2 separate regions of the Homo sapiens genome follow, and region 1 is linked to region 2. Evidence: promoter capture Hi-C in human tissues and cell types (Jung and others, 2019). All regions are on one chromosome and are shown on one strand. The core of a region is centred on a gene start or on the middle of the fragment in contact, and the rest is flanking DNA. Distances in the headings are between cores, read along the strand shown.

Region 1 (3,133 bases), core at 39-2,538, 61 kb before region 2:
GCAGGCTTGCCTGTAGGTGTGTGGACAGTGACCGAGGTCCACAGCTTCGCTTTCTTTTGGGACCTACCAGTTTTATAGAAAAGCATGGTTTGAAGAAGTCCCATTCCCCATTCCTGAAGCTTATGAGGATTCCATGGTTATAGGATTTTAGAACTTTCTATACCCCATGTTCTGAATTTCAAGACACCTCCTCCTTTTGTCTATGCATATTCTTCAGAAATCCCTGATATTCTGCACTAAAACAGCATCTTGGTATCACACAGATTTTTTTTTTCTGTAAGACAACACATAATAGTGTAGCAAAAAATAAAAAAATAAAAGATAATTTACAAATCCTACATGCTAAAGTTCTGACTACCTATCATATATAGCCAGGGAAATGGTCCCTTCATAACTCCTGAGTCTTACCTCTGGCTTTTCTTTCCTTTCTCTTTTAGTGCCATCAACACAGGGTCCCAAGAGTTCTCAGCCACATCAGCTCCAAGAAGAACTTGTTTCATTGAGGATTTAGGGGAACTGTCTCATTGGCGAAGAGAAGTTCTCCTCCCCCTGCCCCGATGTGACTCGTTAAGGTTTGGGGTGCCCTGGCTCTTGGAGCTTTCATCTATGGTCTAAACCTTGAACACCATAAACATTAGGTTGGCAGTTCTTGGAGCTTGGGTAACTGCATGCACATGCCTTGTTCACACATGTCCCAGTATTTTTACTTACTCTGTTGAGGGAGTTTATTCTTTCCTTTGAATACATTTCACTCCCACCTGTAATAAACTCCCAATTGGTCTTTCTACTTTTGTATCTTTAGGTGAATTAAAAATTTCATTTTTAGTAGATGTTTCATATTTGTGCTACATCCTTCTGAACTCCAGAATCATATGTAGGCATACGTGTATATGTGTGTAAATATATATTTAGAGTATATATATATATTTAATACATATCTATAATAAATTCTATATTCATTTCCACTCTGGTGTTAGGCTTCATTGTTCTCACTGACAGGCAGCTCTGGGTCCTGGGAGTCTGCCATTGTTGGACTCCATTAACAGGCTCCCTAGCCCTTCCACTGATGGCTGCATTTGGCTAATTTTGGGGAATGGGAGCATGCGGAAATATGAGCGCAGCTGGAGCCAGTGTTGGGATATTTCTTACTGGTTGCTGGAACCCACTTAACAGCAGCTGCATTCTTCCGCCAGGGGCCAGCGCTCCTGCTGGGCAGTCCCTCCCCGCCACCTACAGCAACCCCTAGTGCGTGTGGCAGGCAGAGCAATGCTTCCAGAGATGTGTACATCCTGAGCCCTGAAATCTGTGGATATATTATGCAAGCTGGTAAGGGGAAGTTCAGGTTGCAGAGGGAGTTAAGGGTGCTAATAGGCTGACCTTAAAATAGGAAGATTATCTGGATTATCCAGATAAGCCCAAATTCCTTAAAAGATGGTAGAATGGTAGGGGAGTCAGAGCTGAAGTGATTCAATATGAGAAGAACTCCACTCACTGCAGGCTTGAAAGACAGAAGGCCATGAGGCAAGGACTGTGGGCAGCCTCTAGGAGCCAGGAAAGGCAAGGAAATGGGTTCTTTCCTAGAGCGTCTGGAAGAATGCAGCACCCCCCCCCCCCACCCCCACACTGTCCAGAGCCCAGTGAGCCCGTCCTGACTCTGACTTTCAGAGCTGTAGGATCACAAACTTGTGCTGTCAGCTGCCAAGGCGGTGGTATTTGTTCAGCAGCCGTGGGAAACTAACACACTGGGCTTGGCCACCACTGCATCCTTCACCCGTGGGGTCTAGGGATGGTGCACGTGCCCCTTTCACTGACTGTGGGTCCTTTACCCTCCGTTGTTGGTTTTCCTTTGCAAATATCCCTCTGTTCCCTCTCCTCAGATACCCTGTGGAATTTGTCTCCAATTTCCTGGCAGGACTGGGGATGAGATGGGAAACTAAGGGGGGAAGGGTCAAAACGACCTCATCCGCCTCCAGCATCCTCTAGCTCAGTCAGTGCCCACTGTATAATTATTGTCACAAAACCACAGCCAGATAATTCTTTTTTTTTTGTCATAATCAAAGGGCCATAAAATAGATTTAAAGCAAAACTCACACTATCTCTGTCATTACTTGGTGCATTTTTCTCACCCTCAAAATTAGCTGTTTTTTTCTTCATAGACCAAAGAGAAGTAACAAAAATAAACTTGTGCCGAGTTCACAAGCTTCAGCTGGATGTACTGGGGCTGGGTCAACTCAATGCCATCAACCTCCCACAGGGTGAACGGGAGCCGCTCTTCAGGCCCACCTAAGCATCTGCTCTCTCCCATGGAGGGACTGGTGTCAGGCCTCCAGTAGGGGAGAGGTGACTTCAGCGTCTGGACAGCCTCCTGTGCGGACCTGGCAGCACTGCTGGTGGTGGTGATGGCTGACAGTGCCTTTGTGCTCCCACCCTGCCCAGAGCTGTTAGATGCTCTCCACACAAGGCCTTCTGCCCTCCTCTGCTCCTACACCCTGACCCCAATCACACAGGAAGCATCCCCATCCTGGGGTCAGTACCCCGTTTTCAGAAACTCCTCTCTCTCTCACACACACACATGCACGCACACACCATTGTCCCTCCTGAGCCAGGGCTGCTTCCCAGTGACTGGCAGCCTCCCACCTCCCTGGCTGCATCCTGGCAGGCTCAGCCCAAGCTGTGGGAAGACCAGGGCCTAAGGAAGCCATGCGGAAAAGAGGACAGAGGGAATGAACAGGGCAATGGGTCATGATCAAAGGAGCCATGTGGTCTGAGTAACTGCCCACAGCTGTGGGGCCAGGCTTGGGTAGTGGGAGGCAAAGAGGCTGAAGAGTGCAGGGAAACACTCTCCCCTCAGTATTCTATCCATCTTTTCAGGCAGGCAGTGTCTGGCTACCTTGTGGTCAATCCTAGCTAACAGCTTTCTTTCTTAGCCATGTTTTAGCACAAGGAAGCGAGTTTCAACATCTTGGCTGGGCCATGGGAGCAGACTGGCCAGTGGGAAGTGAGGTCAGAGCAGAGGCTGGCTCTGCAGTAACCTCACAGACCCTGCATCTGAGTTCCAGGTCGCTGACCCGGAAGAGGGCAGAGGTGCAGCCACAGGCCAGCTCGGAAGGCAGCTCCAGTTTCAGCTCTGCCA
Region 2 (2,772 bases), core at 38-2,537:
GCCTCTCTACCCAACTAGAAGTCCTCAACTTAGCTGGGTGCAGTGGCTCATGCCTGTAATCCCAGCACTTTGGGAGGCCGAGGTGGGCAGATCATGAGGTCAGGAGTTCAAGACCAGCCTGGCCAACATAGTGAAACCCTGTCTCTACTAAAAATACAAAAAATTAACCAGGCATCTGGCGGGTGCCTGTAATCCCAGTTATTTGGGAGGCTGAGGCAGGAGAATCACTTGAACCTGGGAGGCGGATCTTGCAGTGAGCGGAGATGACGCCACTGTACTCTAGCCTGGGTGACAGAGCAAGATTCCATCTCAAAAAAAAAAAAAAAAAAAAGTCCTCAACTTGGTGACTATTTTCATTGTTCATGCCTACAGCACAGATGAACTGTGCATTCCTGATTGCATTCTGTAGTGACTTCATTAAAAGGAGAACATTTAGGATTAAGACCTGTGGTCTGAGGAAGAGTGTGAAACAGTCTTCAGTTTATTAAGTGCAGACACACCAAGGAGCTCAGAGAAGTTGGAAATCAGCAAAGAGGAACTGACCACCCAGAGGTCTTTTGGGACTGGTGGGGGTTTCTTATTGCTCCTGAACCCTTACTGTTCTCTTTTTTAATTTTCATTTTTTAAATTATCTCTTTTTTATTACATTTTTTGGAAGTATTTCTCAATTTCTCTCTATTCACATTTTCTGTTCAGCCCTTTTCCTTATTCCGTATCTTCATTTTCTTGGTAGTCCTCATTTTGAAGTCATTCTTCAGTTAAATAATGTCATAAAAAGATGGAGATTAAACAATATGTTTTTCATGAGAGTTGATTAGGATCAAATTATTTGAAATTTCTAACTTAGATGTTTTCAAAATCAAAAACTAACTAAACTACCTTGTATTTTCTTAAGTATGGACTACAACTGGTGAACAAGACTCTTCAATAAGACCCCCTGTCCCCACCCCACTCCCATTTTTCACTGAGCAGCACATGCCAGATGCCAGGGCAGGAGGGTACGTGGTCACCAACCTGCTCCTTCCAGGAATTCAAGATGTGCCCCAGTCTGTAGGCATAGTAGTCCTTGCTCTGTTGGTTGAATGTGTGGACAGCAAACTCCACTGTGGCAGGGAGGTAACGAGCCATGACATTGTGTTCATCACAGTCCCTTTGCTCGTGGAAATGCCAGGCATAGATCAGCAGGATCTGGGAGCCTAAGAGAAGCAGCAGCAGCGCCCAGGACAGACCTCCCTTCCACGGCAGGCCCAGCATGGTGCTGACTGTAGGCACCGCTGACTTTGCTCTTCCCAGCCCCCGTGCCCACAGGAGTTAATTGAGCACAGACCCAGCCCTTAATCTTATCTGCTCAGACAGCCCTGTGGGACAAACTTGTCTCACCCCACACTGGCAACAGGCACTCCTACAGGACAGGAAGGACAGGATCCTGGATTAAAGGGAGGCAGCTCTGGATGTGGAGTCACTCATCTGCCATCCTTCTGCCCTATACTCTCTAGGCCAGCACAAGCCACAGGCAGGAGGGGAGCTACCCTCTGCCACTAGCTTTGAAGGCTGCTCCTTCAGAACCCACAGGTTCTGGTTGTCCTCAGGTGCTTGGTGTCCTTGGATGATTCTGTGCCTTCGCCTCCCACAGCGAACTGAGATAAGACCTGGGGACATCTCGACTCTCACTCTCCCCTCCTTCACCCCGTCGAAGAGAGGATCTCCGTTGTTCAGAAAAATAACTAAGATATCAGTTTGTTCTTTTGTTGTATAATACCTCAACAGTTGTACTCTGTGAACCAAGGGAAAAAATGAAAAAAATAAATGGCAATTTTTATCAACCATTTTGACCTGGGATGGACAATGAGTATTGTGAGAAAAGGGCAGGAAAGACAGAGACCCAAGTCCTGAGGCCCCAGCCTGGTCATGCCCAGCCCAGCCCTGCTTGCATTTCTAAACCTTGTCAGCCCTGGTTCCAGCTGAGCCAGAGCCAAGGTTTCTACAGGGCCCACCGCCCTACATCTGCAGCCCCACCACACACACTCATGTTTTATTAGACTGGAATATCATTCTAGACCAAATTTTTAAACACTTCTCTGGGAGATCACATGTTTCTGCCTCAGTGAGATAGAGGTTGGACCATTCTTCAGCCCCTTGATCATTTTTGTCTCCATCTGACCATCCTTCTTGGTGTTCTAGAGTGAGCTATTTTGCCAGCACTTAGGTGATACTAGGTGGTTACTTTTAAATCAATTTCCTGGCAATAACTAACCTGAAAGAGGAAATAATAATATTTTGTTGCTGTAAGAATGAACATTAAATAGTGCAGGACAGGTGAAGTATGCAAAAGTGAGAGCTTTGAGTTTGGCTGAGAAGACTATGGTGCTGCAATATAGGCAAGAACCTAGCATTGTTGCCAGATAACAGAATAGAAAGTTCAGTCCCAAGTCAGGGAGACTGATTCTACAAGAACTGTTCTGACTGTGTCCCATACCATGTTCCCAGATCACAGCAGGGCCAGGCCTGGGAAGAGCATCACTGCATCTGTCCACACTAGCACAGCACTGGCCAGGTCAAGACAGCTGCAGGTGAAGAGAGTCATGCTGCCTGACCCAACACTGGGGTGGTCCCGAGTGTCTCCTCACAGGAGACTTCACCCATCACAGACAGAAGAAAGTAGCTAGTGTGTGGGGAGCTGCTGCCCAGGAGCCATGTGCATCTTGATCTTCTGCCTTGACTCCAGGAAGTGGGTGACACAGAGTAGCTGAAACCTGTGTCCTGATTAGCAAT

What was found. Contacts are between HindIII fragments. The study calls those that stand out against the background at their distance.
Region 1: a fragment that was not itself captured here is called in contact with the fragment with the promoter of CST9L in region 2 in 1 of the 25 tissues and cell types used here (dorsolateral prefrontal cortex).

The regions. Positions count from the first base shown.
Region 1 is chr20:23,506,338-23,509,470 of GRCh38, forward strand. It overlaps a transcript of CST8 not described here. Among named protein-coding and RNA genes, the nearest start is that of CST8, 17 kb to the left of the region's middle. The HindIII fragment of the contact is 4,670 bases long and covers 1-3,133 here.
Region 2 is chr20:23,567,197-23,569,968 of GRCh38, forward strand. It overlaps CST9L (cystatin 9 like), which reads right to left and starts at 1,288. Exons shown (of 3, transcript NM_080610.3): 1 at 1,015-1,288. The coding sequence starts at 1,254. The HindIII fragment of the contact is 10,231 bases long and covers 1-2,772 here.